4 separate regions of the Homo sapiens genome follow, and all the other regions are linked to region 1. Evidence: promoter capture Hi-C in 16 types of primary human blood cells and fetal thymus (Javierre and others, 2016). All regions are on one chromosome and are shown on one strand. Each heading gives the region's core, a stretch centred on a gene start or on the middle of the fragment in contact. The rest is flanking DNA. Distances are from core to core; before and after follow the strand shown. Region 1 holds the start of YY1 (YY1 transcription factor). Region 2 overlaps PPP2R5C (protein phosphatase 2 regulatory subunit B'gamma). Region 3 holds the start of LOC124903388 (a long non-coding RNA gene). Region 4 holds the start of DYNC1H1 (dynein cytoplasmic 1 heavy chain 1).

Region 1 (3,377 bases), core at 78-2,577:
GGAAGTTGGGGGCGGGCGGGGCAAGCGCCCGCGGCGCCCTCCAGCGGCCGATGGGGTAACGGCAGCGCCGGGCGGGGGCGGGGGCGCGCGTCCCGGAGGCAGCAATCCCTGGCCCGCGAGGCCGCGGCGCAGCCCCGCCAACGACCTCCCGCGTCCCGCCCGGGCCGGGGGCGCGCAGCTGCCGCCACAACGGGCCGGCGGGCGCGCCCGTTGATGCGGGCGCGGGGAGCGAGGGCGTCGGGGAGCGAGCGCGCCGGCCCCTCCCCCGGCCGTCTCCGCCCCGCGCGGCGCTTCCCCCTCTCGGAGAAACTACGCCATTGCGGCCTAGCCGGGCGGCGCCGGCCCCTCCCCCCCGCGGCCTGCCGCCATCTTCGCGGCCCGCCGCCCGCCGCCGCCGCCGCGCCCCCGCCGCCGCACGGCCCGCCATCTTTTGGGGCCGCCATACTTGCCCTGGCGAAGAAGATGGCGGCGCCCATCACACACATAAAACATGGCTTCCCTTCAAAACAAAAACATCCCGGGGCCGGGGCGCGCGGCCGGCGCTCACCTGAGGACCACATGGTGACCGAGAACTCGCCCTCCAGGGTCTTGATCTGCACCTGCTTCTGCTCCCACTTCTTGTTGCCCGGGTCGGCGCCGCCGCCGCCCGCCGCGCCGGCCCCGCCGCTGAGGTAACTCTTCTTGCCGCTCTTCTTGCCGCCGCCCTTCTTGACGCGGCCGCCTCCCGACGACGACGAGCCGCCGCCGCCGCTCTTGCCGGCCGCCGCCACGGTGACCAGCGTTTGTTCAATGTAGTCGTCGTCGCCGCCGGCCGGCGCGGGCACCGGGATGAGAATCTGATCCTCGAAGCCGTCCTCGGCGCGCAGCCCGTCCGAGTCGTCGCCGCCCACCACCTCCTCGCGCGTCTGCACCAGGATCACCTCCTGGTGGTGGTGCACCTGGGTCGGGTCGTCGGTGACCAGCGGCTGCAGAGCGATCATGGGCGGGTGGTGGTGGTGGTGATGGTGGTGGTGGTGGTGGCCGGCGTGCCCGTGGCCGCCCCCGCCGCCGTGGTCGCCACCGCCGCCGTCCTCGTCGTCGTCGTCCTCCTCCTCCTCCTCGCCCACCACTGTGGTCTCGATGGTCTCCACCGGGATGGTCTCCACCTCGATCTCGTGCAGCTCCACGATCTCGGCCGGCATCTCCGAGCCGTCCGTGGCGATGTAGAGGGTGTCGCCCGAGGCCATGGCTGAGGGCTCCGCCGCCACGGCCGCGGCGGCCTCGGCTCCTCGGCTGCGGGCGGGCGGGCGAGGAGGCGGCCGGCCGTGGGGAAGGAAGGCAGAGGGAGGAAGGCGGCGAGCGGGCGGGGGGAGAGGGGGCGGGCGGCGGGGGAAGGGGCGGGCGCCGCGGCGGCGGCGGGGCTTCCCCGCCTCCCTCGCCTCGGTGCGCCCGCGCCCGCGCTCGCTCGGCCGCTGCTCGTCTCGGCTCCCCGCCTCGCCTCGCCTCGCCGCAACCGCCCGCCCTGGCCGCGCCTCCTCCCGCCCTCCGGGCCGGCGCTCCGCTTCCCCCTTCCTCCTGCGCCTCCGCCTCCTTCCACACAAATACCAACTCCTCAACCCGAGCCCAGATCTCGCCGCCGCCGCCACACTCTGCTCGGGCCCGGCCTCGCGAGACTTCCGCGCTGGCCTCAGCCCGCCCCGCCTCGCTGCCACTCGCCCGTTCGCCCTCTCGATTCTCCTCTCGGCCAATCGATCTGTCCGCTGGCCTCCGCGGCCCCGCCCACTCGCCGGGCTCCTCCCGGATTGGGGCCGATGGGACCGGGGGCGGGGCGGCTCGCACGCGCCCTGGCTGGCCCGCGGCGCGTGACGTCAGCGCGCCGCCGCCGCCGCCACCGCCTCCCGCTTCCCGGTGTCGCGCGGCTGCCGCCCTTCGCGGTGCAACAGCCACAAAACCCGCCGCCTCGGGCCGGGGCCGCACTCGGGAACGGGGCGTCGCCGCTACAGCCGCTGCCTTGGGAGCCGGTGAGCGGTCCGCGCGGCCCCGGGCACCACGGGGGCGGGAGCCTGAGGAGAAGGGAGGGAGGGGCCGGCCGGGAGCGGGGTTGAGGCGGGTGGGCGGCCCGGGGGCCGCGCGGGGAGCGGCTGGCGCGTGCGGGGCGGCCCTGTCGCCCCAATAAAGTCTGCTTTGACGAGAATCGCCTGTGCTTCCTTTTTCGCGTCGGGAGGTGTTTGTTCTTGTCGCCTGGCTTCGGGCGAGCGATGGCCGCGGGGTGAGTGTGGAGGACCGAACGGACAAAATCGGGCGACGCGGGCAGCGTCCGGTATCTCGCCGCGAGCGCCCGGCGGGGTGCGGGGCCGAGCGCGGGGTCGGCGCGAGCTCGGCGGAAGCGCCCGCGGAGCCCCAGGGCCACCGTTGGGAGGATGTCCGTTATTCTTTAGTGACCCGCGGAAACCTGAGACGCAGCCGTTGGGTGCCTGTTTCCCCGTAGATCTTAGAACTACAGGGTCCTGGCGGCTTTCTAAAATTTTCTCCTGAGCTTCCCCTTCTTTGCTCTCCAGTCAGCCATTGTTTCCCTTGCCCACCCTTTCCCCCTATTTGTCACTTTCATAGGTGCTCCTTTTTACGCCCACCAGGTTTTGCATTTGTCTCATTTAAAATTCCAAATTTTTTCAGCCGTGTCCTCCATTGTACCTGCAACAGAGCCTAGATTTTTTTTTGTGGCACGGATTAGCGGCAAGTTAAACCTTCCTGAATGAGTTACATTGCAGCGAAGTGTTTCTGCTCTTATCTGTCCTTTTGGTCGACCTGACAATTTGCCTTAAAGCAAAACAAAGATTTCCTGATTTTTAAGGAAACTATGACAAATTGAAGAGTTGGAAAGGTGTGTCTTTGTTGTACTCGTTTGGCCGATTTAACGCCTCTGTGAATTTGTTCAACTTAAATATTATCAACATTTACTGTTTTGTAATAGTGTTCATGCAGTTGAGGCCCATGATTTTCTGAACTGTACGCAATACATTAATCTTAGGCTCAACTTGTTAAAACAAGTAGACTATACATTCTCATTAAAAGGCAACTTTATAAATCCTAGTCCCTTCTTATTGCTAAATCGCATTGGACTTGACTTTTGAGAATATTAGTGTAAGGAGTGACAAATTAGATCGTTTTCTCTTTGAATCTGAGCTTTGAAACCTGAATAATTCCCCTTGGAGTACTGCACCCACTCAGTTTGGAAAAGTCAAATCTGTTGAATTAAGTCATCTCTGGCTTTATAGCTTATAAACTCTGCATAAATATTTCATGAATGGAAACCAGTTGTGGGAGAACTTTTACATGTCTTAATGCTTTTTAAATTTCACTTTCCCCACTCTCTAGTAATTGATGGGGAAATGGCACTG
Region 2 (3,379 bases), core at 267-2,766, 1.6 Mb before region 1:
GGTTCCTAATACAAATTTGACATGGGCCAGGTTTCCCATTAGCCAGTATTACAGATGACAAGTGGGAAGGAGCCCTCTGAACAAACGTCTGGGACACTACCTTAACTGCAAGTCTGACTTGATAACATGATCACCAACCAAATACCTGAATCATCAACATTCCCCTCTACTGAGTTCTCTTGAGCACTCAGCTGACTGTAAACTGTGATCCCAGGTGGAAGTCACTGTGGAGTTTAGGCCACGTCAGTTCCTCGGTGTAATGCACCTCCCAGCTCTGTGCCAACACCCTGCCCTGGGCTTCCCTTATCCCAATTCATCCTGCTCCCCCAGCCACAGGACAGCACCACATCTTTGCTTCCTTGGATGGCCCCAGCTGAGCAGCCCATGCTCCCACCGCCATGAGGAGCAGCCCAGTGTCCAGCCTACCAATTCTGGGGTTGCTGGACAGTCGGCTGTGCTGGAATCAGAGACTCCCAGTCCCTGAAGACACAGGCTGCATTTTTTTTTTCCTTACTGTGAATGTGCTTTGAATACACTCCTAAAAAGTAAACAAAACAAAACAAAACACTTCTCCAAGCCACTGGCAAGTAGGCTTGACCCTGCCAAGTAGGTGGAGCAAAGCTAAAGTCTGGCCAGACCTTCTAACCTTCTTCTGAGGCTCTGTGGCCACAGGCCCACCAGCGAGCTGGATATAATCAAGTACCAAGTCAATCTCTGAGATTTGAGGACTTTTTCTCACAGCTTTTTGGCAAAGTCATCTTGGGAGAGGAAAGAGTAGAGGTAGTCAATTAGAGTTGATTTCTGATTTTCCCAGCATGTAATAAAGATCCCCTCCTCTCATCCCCATCCAGACTCCTGATAACCAAATTAATATCTTAATAAATCCTCAGTATGAATGTCCCCAAGCGACTTGACAGGCCTGGGGCTTTAAGCATGCATTCTATGACCTCATAATTTAAAGAGATTTGGAGGCCAGGGCTGGCAACGCACCAGTGAAGTTTCACCCACCAGACACTGAATCTGGGAGGAGAATTTCTCCTTGAGCCATTTCTGCTGGAACAGCTGCCTGATCACAAGAGGAAAATGCCTCCTTAGATTAACTTGCTGGTGGCCTTGTGAGATACCTCAGCAGCCGTACTGAGACGCCACATCAAGGGACCATCTTTAGTTCCATTTTTTGAGAAGACTTTTTGTTTGGCTTGAAGAGGGTCCCCCTGAAGCTGACCCTCAGTGCTGCCGTCACTGCTGCAACCTCAGCACCTCCATGGCCTGCATGTGCAGACAGGAGAACCGGACCCAGTCAAGGTCCCACCAGTTCTGCAGACAAGGGTCTGGAGTCCAAGTAACCACACAGCACACCCTGCTCAAATTCTCAGGGTGACTCTTCACATGGGATATAATCTGTCTTGAATGGATCACATTTGCCACCCAGAGGAAGAGACAATGTCAAAACTGATTCAGGCCGGGTGTGGTGGCTGACGCTTGTAATCCCAGCACTTTGGGAGGCTGAGGCAGGTGGATCACTTGAGGTCAGGAGTTTTGAGACCAGCCTGGCCAACACGGTGAAACCCCATCTCTACAAAAATACAAAAATTAGCCGAGCGTGGTGGCAGGTGGCGGGTGCCTGTAATCCCAGCTACATGGGAGGCTGTGGCAGGAGAATCACTTGAACCCTGGAGGCAGAGGTTGCAGTGAGCTGAGATCGCGCCACTGCACTCCAGCCTGGGTGACAGAGCGAGACTCCGTCTTAAAAACAAAAAATGCCAAAAAAACCCTTGGATTGAATAAAGCTGGGAAGTGAAAACCCCTAGTCATGTTAGGGAATTTCACATGGCCTGTTACCATAATGCCTTGAGAAAACAGTTTTGGAACAGTGAACTGACTCAGCAATTCATCTGGCTGGGGGTGGTGGAAGTCAAGTTTAGGTCCATGTGCTGCTCCCTCATACTGTGTCCTCTCAATGAAATGCATCCTTTACAAAATCGCAAGGGGGTGTGTCTTTGGGGCCAGACAATGAGAGCAAAAAATGAAGGGAAAATTAAGAACAATGGTTTACCCAAGGTGGTGGTTTCTGAAGAATGATCAAACCATATAATTAAACCAATCATTTTAGGTAACTGTGTGATCCTCTAACAACTTCTGCCAAACTTGGAGAGTCTAGGAATCTTTGGTAACCCTATCTTCTTCAAACATTTGACCAATCAGAGCTGGCCAAGACATATCAGGCAAGACTCCTCATTACCAGAACGGCTGGGAAGCTCCACCTCGAATTAAAACCCTGACACCGGCCATGTGAACAGCAGCACCAGTGACCTCTGGCCACGGCTGGCCGAGGGGCGGACCTAGGCGCCCATGTTTTTCCTGGACCACACTCCAGGGCGGCTTGGCGTGAGAGTAAACAACTTGATCAAGGACAAAGTTTTGACCAAGTCAAAGTTTTCCTCCTGAAAACTGAAGCTACTGACGACTTCTCACTAGACGGAACATGGGAAGAATCAGGCAGATCTAATCACTGCCAGTGTGGACATGACTGATTCCAGCACGTTTCAGATGCTGTGCCTAGTGTTCACACTGCAACCTCCCTGACTATCCACAACTGTCCTGTGAGAGAGAAACTGTTATCACTCCCATTTTCCAAATGAAGAACAGCCACTCAACAGTTCAATACTTGCTGGAGGTCCCACAACTGCTAACTGTATTATGTTACTGAGTAAATGCAGAAGAGCATGCAGAGAAATTACACGGTAAAGCGCGGGGAAGAAGGGGCATGACACGCAAAGACTGGGAGTGGCGGGGTGGATGAGGACACAGAGGGGTCACTCACGCTGCTGGAGTCTGGACCCTTCTGCCTCCACAGTCCCGCTCCACCCTGCTCCTCTGTGTGGAGTCCCTCTGTGACTGTGCCTTAAAAACACTTGTCTTCATCTATGCAAGCCCAAGTGTGTCTCCACTGCTTGTAACCCAAGAAAGAGATGGGAAGGTGTCTTCGGAACAGATTCCCCAGGTGGAACCCAGAGTCGCCCACCCTGGGGTTTCCCGTACTTCAGTCCTGCATGAACACCTTCAAGATCGTCACAAATCTGTGTACAGTCAGGCTCTTATTTACTTGGTATTTTGCTTTAAATGGATACACTTTTTACTAAGCCCTGTCCTAAGCAATAATAACCCAAGAAACCATGGATTTGATGTGCTAATTATATATTTTCACATTCATCAATATATAATTATTAAAGTAAAATAATACTCAACTCTGAATCACTTAAAATAACTGCCGTTAGCAGTGGTGTGCACTTGCCACACTTGGAGGAATCCTGGGCTATCTATCCCACAGTACGAAGAAAGAAGATAACAAGAAATCCTCTATTTGGCCTACACTGTA
Region 3 (3,086 bases), core at 268-2,767, 1.6 Mb before region 1:
AACTGTGTGCTTCCTCTCTGGCCATTACCATCTTTCCGGCTTGGCTGTCACTGCCTTAAACCTGGCTCCTGAAGTGAGCATGCGCTGCAGGGTGGGAAGTGGGCCCACCCACCACGCCTCACAGCATCACGGCTGGCCCAGCTTCCCAGCACAGGGAGGAGGCACTAGACTGAAGGCCTGCAGGAAACATGCTTTCCTATCCTTAACAGGCAATTCCGAAAGTCAAAGAACAGTCTAGAACAGAGTTGGTGAACTATGGTCCATGGGCCAAATCCAGCCTGTCACCTGTTTGTCAATAAAGCTTTATTGGACCACAGTTATGCCTATTCATTTACTGTCTATGGCTGCTTTCACCCACAAAGCCAAAGCTACTTACAATCTGGTCCTTTTCCAAAAAAGTCGAACAATTCCAGTCTACGACTGTGCTGTCCAATATCCTAGCCACAAGACAGGTGTGTCCACTTAAATTTACAATAACTACAGTTAAAAATTCACTTTCTCAGCTGTATATGTTAAGTGCTCAGCAGTCGCAGGTGACCAGGGGCTGCTGCAGAGGACAGCACAGAACATTTCCACCACAGCAGACAGTTCTCCTGGACACAGCTGAGAGTGAGGATTTATGTCACCAAGCTACATTCACAGCCATCAAGTTCCAGGTGACTCTCCTTCTACAGACAGAAGGGCTTACACTAACTCTCAAAAATATGTCCCTTTCACACTCAAACTTATTAGGATGTGCAAATTCACCATTTTAATCGCAAAGTCCAGACTACTTGGTAGACAATAATGGTCAAAGCGATCGTGACAACAAATCAGGTGATCATTTTCCTTACTTACTTACTTGGTCCCCACCCTGATGGATGGTAAACTGGGAAAGCTGGGCCATAGCCCCTGCTCATATCCACATTAGAACCCTGCCTGGCATGTGGTATGGATCAATAAATATTTGTAAAATGATTAATAAATGAGCCCAAGGTACAAAACTGTTATACAAAAAGAGGCTACCGAGCCAAATAAATGGTAAGGCATTGGGGAAAATACCACTACTGTAATCCTGTAGCAAAATGTTCTTCAAGCAGCCAACATTCCTATTTTAAAATGATTTTTTTAAAAAGATCCAAAACAAAACAACACAACAGTCTGGGTTTGGATTCTGGCTCCACCACTTCCAGGCTGTGTGACCTTGGGTAAGTTATTTCTCCTTCAGTGGGAAAGACCCCTCCTTCCTAAATAAACGGGAAGGACAGCGCATGCCCACCCCATCCGAGTGAGCAGGGTAGCCCAGGGTGCAGCCCTCCTTGGTTCCTTCTGCTCCTGACACCAGCCCCTGCTCTCCCGGGCACCCTGCCGGTGTGTTCTTGCTTTAGCCCTCTCGTGGCAGAGCTCCTATGCTGGGTCTCTCCATTCGCTCCTTTGGGACAGGGGCTGCAACTTAATCACTGTAATGACGCTCAGCACTTGGCACACCGGAGCTGCTCAATGGATGTTAAGCTAAGACTCTAAGGCCCAATAAATAAATCAAATTTTGCTAAATCTCACATTAACATGCTCGCTCCAGAAAAGTCTTTATGAGTAAATCAAGCGTTCTTCAAATTTTGAAGTTAGAAATTACCCCCACTGTTTGAGTCAGAAGTTAGTCTTAGGTCTCCAAAGTTATCCCTTCTTAAAAACTCAAGTCTCTTTCAGGCTAATACACTTCACTGCTTTTTCCCTCCACAATTATACAGCAAGCAACCAACCACCCAACCAACAGCAACAAATACAAACTGGCCATAATAAGGTCTTGGAATTTTAAAAAAAAAATCAATGTGGTTCAAGACACAACGTGAAATGATTCTATTTCAGAATAAGTTCATAATTCAAAAACTGAGTAGTATATTAGGCATCTAATAAAAACCAGAAAACACAAACCAAAAAGATTTATGTTATTTATAAGTGGATACCTTAAAAGTATAAAAATTTACATTTTATATGCAGTTAATTTATCTTACTGCTAACTAGTTCGTTTTTAAGAACTAACTTGGCCAGGTACAGTGGCTCTTACCTGTAATCTTAGCACTTTGGGAGGCGGAGGTGGGAGGATCGCTTGAGCCCAGGAGTTCAAGACCAACCAGGGCAACATGGCAAAACCCCATCTCTACAAAAAATATTAAAAAATTAGCTGGGCATGGTGGTGCGTGCCTGAAGTCTCAGCTACTCAAGAAACTGAGGTGGGAGAATCACCTGAGCTCGGGAGGTGGAGGCTGCAGTGAGCTGTGATCATACCACTGTACTCCAGCCTGGGTGACAAGAGTGAGACCCTGTCTCCCAAAAAACAAACAAAAGCTATCTAACTTAAATCCAAACAATTACATTTTGTTCTTGCCCATTTGGTTCTTGCAGCTAAAATACCTGAATGTTACCTGTAGGCAACCTTTGCTTTTTACTGGGTGCACTACAAAAACAATAAATTCACAGCCTGTCCTACAATTTGGTCATTGAATGCTGATTTCCACCTTCATGAAAGATAGTTTGGAGAGAAAAGCACCACCCATTTTATTCCAGTAGATTGAGTCTGCATGTGCCTGGGTACACCCTAGGATCTGAAAAGTCTGGCCTGGCGTTTTAGTCATAGAGATTATTAGTCACCTAGAAATCTTGCTCCCACCCTTCCTTAAAAGAGATTCTGAGAAACAGTTTTGTTGGGGCACAGCTCTGATACTATAAATTCTAAAGTGATCTGATGAAGCTTAAAATCATTTTTCTATTTCACCCAATTATGACCAAAAAAAAATTCATATATCTTAAAATACCAAGAATAAGTAGGCTACTACCCTGATGCCTGTAGTTCAATATAACCGCTATTAATTACTAGAGTAGTTGTGCTTTTAGGCTAAGTTTTGAAACCAAAATATGCATAAAAAGAAGCAAACTAATTATTAAAACAGTGATCTCTATATACCTTGAAAACTTGTTGCCATTTAAAATTTTAAAAGCCAACTGGCAACACAGAGCCTATTTAAATGCAAAATATTTCCTAATATTCCACGAAAACGCTAACATTTCAAAAATGATGACCCACGATAGATTTCAATATTTCAAAGTGG
Region 4 (3,230 bases), core at 501-3,000, 1.7 Mb before region 1:
ATGGTTTATTTGCCTTGAACATTCCACGTGGATATAAGAAAAAAATATTCTTTTACACCCTGCTAATCTCTGGCAGGAAACCAAGGCTACAGGGAAGCATCTTCTGAGTAAGAATAGCCTTTGAAAGAAACAAACCATCAGAAACACAGTGTGTGTTAAGGATGGGGCAGACAGTACAGGGTCTCTCACTGAGAGAACCATACAGTTTTTTGAAATTTTAAGAAGCTTGTTGGCAAATATTTTTAGACAATCTCCAATCCCTAGAGGCTAACCTTGGACATCATCCTTAGGTTCTTAGATGGACACGCCACACCCAAAGTGGTTGTAATGGGCTACAAAGTGGTTGTAATGAATCCATGAGAAAGCCTGCCTGCAGGCAAGCCCCAGACTTAGATGAATGTAACCTTGCTGGTGGGCGATCATTATTTGAGGAGACAGCTGGAACACGCTAACTCTAGCCTCTTCCCCCTACTAGGTGCCTAACCTGAATCTTTTTTTTTTTTTTTAATCTGTAAAATTAGACTCAAATATTACAGGGTTATCATTAACATCATCGAAGCATTAAACAAATATGAGGTATGATCAGTGAAAACAAGCAGTGGATGGGGAGCTGAGACACTGAGTCTAGTCTCAGGACTAAGATTAGCTGGTGACCTTGGGTGAAATCACTTAACCTGAGCCTCAGTTTCCTCAGGTGTAAAATCAGGATACACCCGTTCAGCAAGGATGCTGTGAGAGCATCCACCTACAACAGTGATGCTCGCAGGCCCGGGGCTGGCACCGTCGCTCTGTGGGCCTCGGCCTCTGGGTCCCCACAAGGCAGGGCTGGGACACCCGCCCGACCTCCTCCCGAACCAGAACCCCGGCTGCCCCCAGCTCCGCGGGTCTGCCCCCGACACATCCCTCCCGAAGGCCACTTGGCTTGGACACAAATCGAAACCGAAAAGCTCATGTGACACTGGAGGCAGGGATGCGGCCTCGCCCGCTCTCAGCCCAGGGAGACGCTGTCTCCACCCAACTCGGCCATCTTGAGAGGCCCGAGCAGACAAAGCGACCCCATTGTTTTGGGTGACGGCAGACGGGGACCCCTTTCCCCTCCCCGCGACCAGGAGCGGGGCGCCCTGGGGGCTCCGGGCCGGGCAGTGGGTGTGGCGAGGGCGAGCCCCGGGCGCCGCGCCGGCCTCTGCGGGGCGTCTGCGGCCCTGGGGACCCGGCCGGCGGGACGTCTGCGGCCGCCGGGCTCTGCCCATCCAGGGGTCATCTGCAGCTGCCGGGCTCCTCCCATCCCGGGGACATCTGCGACCCCGGAGGACCTGGCAGGCCCTGCATTCCGCGAGGCCTGGCTCTGGCGACCCTGCCCTCCGCGGCCCCGCACCTTTGAGCGTGGAGCGCTCCACCAGCACCGTGTGGACCTGCGGGTCCGAAAGGAACTTGCGCATCTGCTCCAGGGCGCTCTTCTCCTCCAGCGCCGCCTCCAGCGCGGCCGGCGCCTCGCCGCCGTCCTCCAGCAGCAGCGGCACCAGCTTGCGCAGGTGCTTCTGCAGCACCGACACGTCCGCCACATTCTGCACGGCCGACACTTCCAATCCGGCCGAGCCGTCCTCGCCGCCGCCGCCCCCGGGCTCCGACATGGTGTCGCGCTCGGGACCTTCCAGGAGCGATGAGAAGGCGGCCGCGACTCAGCGAGACAGCCAGCAAGAGACAGAAACGGCCGCCGGAAGCCGGACCGTCCGCTAGCCCACCGCAGACTGAGGAGAGCGGGAGCCGGCTCCGCCCTAAAGGCAGCCACTGCCAGGTGGCCCCGCCCCGCCCCGCCGGCCGCAGCCGCCGCAGCCACCCGCGCTCGCTCGCGGCCTTAGCGTCACGGCGCCGCGCGTGCGCGGGGGGCGGGCCCGGCGATGTCGCCGCGCGCCCTTCTGGGACTTGTAGTCTCGGCGCTGGTCGGGGCCCGCAGCCTCCGCACTGCGAGTCCTAGGAGATGGGGACTTGGCTCAACGTCCTGGCTCGGCGCCCGGGCTTGGCGAGGTTGGTCAGGGGCTGCGTCTGTCTTCTTCACTGCTGTGGACGCAGCGAATAGCACACAGCCAGAGAAACTTTATAGTGAATCAGTGATGTTATTGGCGAGAGCTAACGTTTAGTGAGCGCTTAGCCTGTGCCCGGCGTTGTTCTAAGCCCCTTAACCTCTCATTAAATGTTCTCTCATTGAATGAATGAATGACTACGTATCAGGTACCAAAATATAGGCACGACAGATGTGTTATTAGATATAGACCGGGAGATTGAGGATACTTTTCAGAGGGGGAGGAGATGAGGGGCGTGCTCAGAGAGTCCCATTGCCAGGCTGGAAACGGACAGCTGGGGAGGGGGCCTTCGGGGCAGTGTAAGGTTAAGCCAGGAATGACACCTTCACTGTACGTAAAGCCAAGCTGTGATGGGATCTGGTTCCTAATGACAAAAATCATTGTCCCCGAGGACGCTGTGAGGACCAAGAGGGAGACCTACTGAGAACAGCTACCTCCAGCAATGGCTCTCCTCCAGCCCCCTAGAGCTGGCACTGTCATTCTGTGGGCCTCAGTATCTGGGTCCGTACAAGGCAGGGGCTGGGTTGCCTGCCCACCAAGTTTCCCCCTAGTTCGGACCCACCACGACCTCCTCCCCTACACCATGACTACATAAGAGCCAGAATCCAGGCTGCCCAGCTGGGTGCGGTGGCTCACACCTGTAATCCTAGCATTTTGAGAGGCTGAGATGGGAGGATTGCTTGAGGCCAGAAGTTCCAAGACCAGCCTGGTCAACCTAGCGAGACCCTATATCTATGTGTATTTAAAAATTAAGAATTTTGTAAAATAATAAAAATAATAGAATCCAGGCTGCCCATCTTTGTAGTTTAGAGATGGTAGGTTCTTCTAAGGGGTAGTAATTGGCCTTTGAAAGTTCACATTCATAACTTCTTTCTTAAGTTGGGTGGAGAGAGGGAAGCCAATGGCGTTTTTTTTTTTTTTGGTTTTTTTGTTTTTTTTAAACATCAAAGTGCACTGTCAGAGTGCCGAGTCCTGATTGGTGGAATGATGATGGTATGATTTGATTCTCCCAAATCATCTTTGAAAAACTGTGAAACATACAATAAGCTTATTCCTTGCCTAATTACCGGTTGCTGGGTCCCAGGGGGTTGCTGGAACACGGAGACTAATCAGATGATTCTTGTCTTTAAGGAGCATGTGGAAGAGGGG

Evidence for each region. The method cuts DNA at HindIII sites, captures the fragments that hold promoters and counts their contacts. A CHiCAGO score of 5 or more calls a contact.
Region 2: a fragment that was not itself captured here is called in contact with the fragment with the promoter of YY1 in region 1 in 1 of 17 cell types (activated CD4 T cells); the score reaches 5.9 in activated CD4 T cells.
Region 3: a contact is called between a fragment that was not itself captured here and the fragment with the promoter of YY1 in region 1, in 1 of 17 cell types (neutrophils). The highest score is 5.0, in neutrophils.
Region 4: the fragment with the promoter of DYNC1H1 here is called in contact with the fragment with the promoter of YY1 in region 1 in 1 of 17 cell types (neutrophils); the score reaches 6.4 in neutrophils.

What each region holds. Positions count from the first base shown.
Region 1 is chr14:100,237,094-100,240,470 of GRCh38, reverse strand. It overlaps YY1 (YY1 transcription factor), which reads right to left and starts at 1,327. Exons shown (of 5, transcript NM_003403.5): 1 at 548-1,327. The coding sequence starts at 1,226. It overlaps YY1-DT (YY1 divergent transcript), which reads left to right and starts at 1,850. Exons shown (of 2, transcript NR_189150.1): 1 at 1,850-2,000. RefSeq lists silencers at 1-405, 676-725, 1,216-1,285, 1,436-1,515, 1,576-2,175 and enhancers at 416-575, 1,413-2,265. The HindIII fragment of the contact is 3,842 bases long and covers 1-3,377 here.
Region 2 is chr14:101,832,190-101,835,568 of GRCh38, reverse strand. All of the region lies in intron 3 of PPP2R5C (protein phosphatase 2 regulatory subunit B'gamma), which reads right to left. Among named protein-coding and RNA genes, the nearest start is that of PPP2R5C, 72 kb to the right of the region's middle. RefSeq lists an enhancer at 2,354-2,854. The HindIII fragment of the contact is 5,116 bases long and covers 1-3,379 here.
Region 3 is chr14:101,810,579-101,813,664 of GRCh38, reverse strand. All of the region lies in intron 3 of PPP2R5C (protein phosphatase 2 regulatory subunit B'gamma), which reads right to left. It overlaps LOC124903388 (a long non-coding RNA gene), which reads left to right and starts at 2,675. Exons shown (of 2, transcript XR_007064349.1): 1 at 2,675-3,086. RefSeq lists an enhancer at 3,047-3,086. The HindIII fragment of the contact is 2,427 bases long and covers 304-2,730 here.
Region 4 is chr14:101,963,093-101,966,322 of GRCh38, reverse strand. It overlaps DYNC1H1 (dynein cytoplasmic 1 heavy chain 1), which reads right to left and starts at 1,750. Exons shown (of 78, transcript NM_001376.5): 1 at 1,376-1,750. The coding sequence starts at 1,631. RefSeq lists silencers at 1,058-1,267, 1,758-1,917 and enhancers at 793-1,402, 1,403-2,013, 2,058-2,197. The HindIII fragment of the contact is 2,903 bases long and covers 228-3,130 here.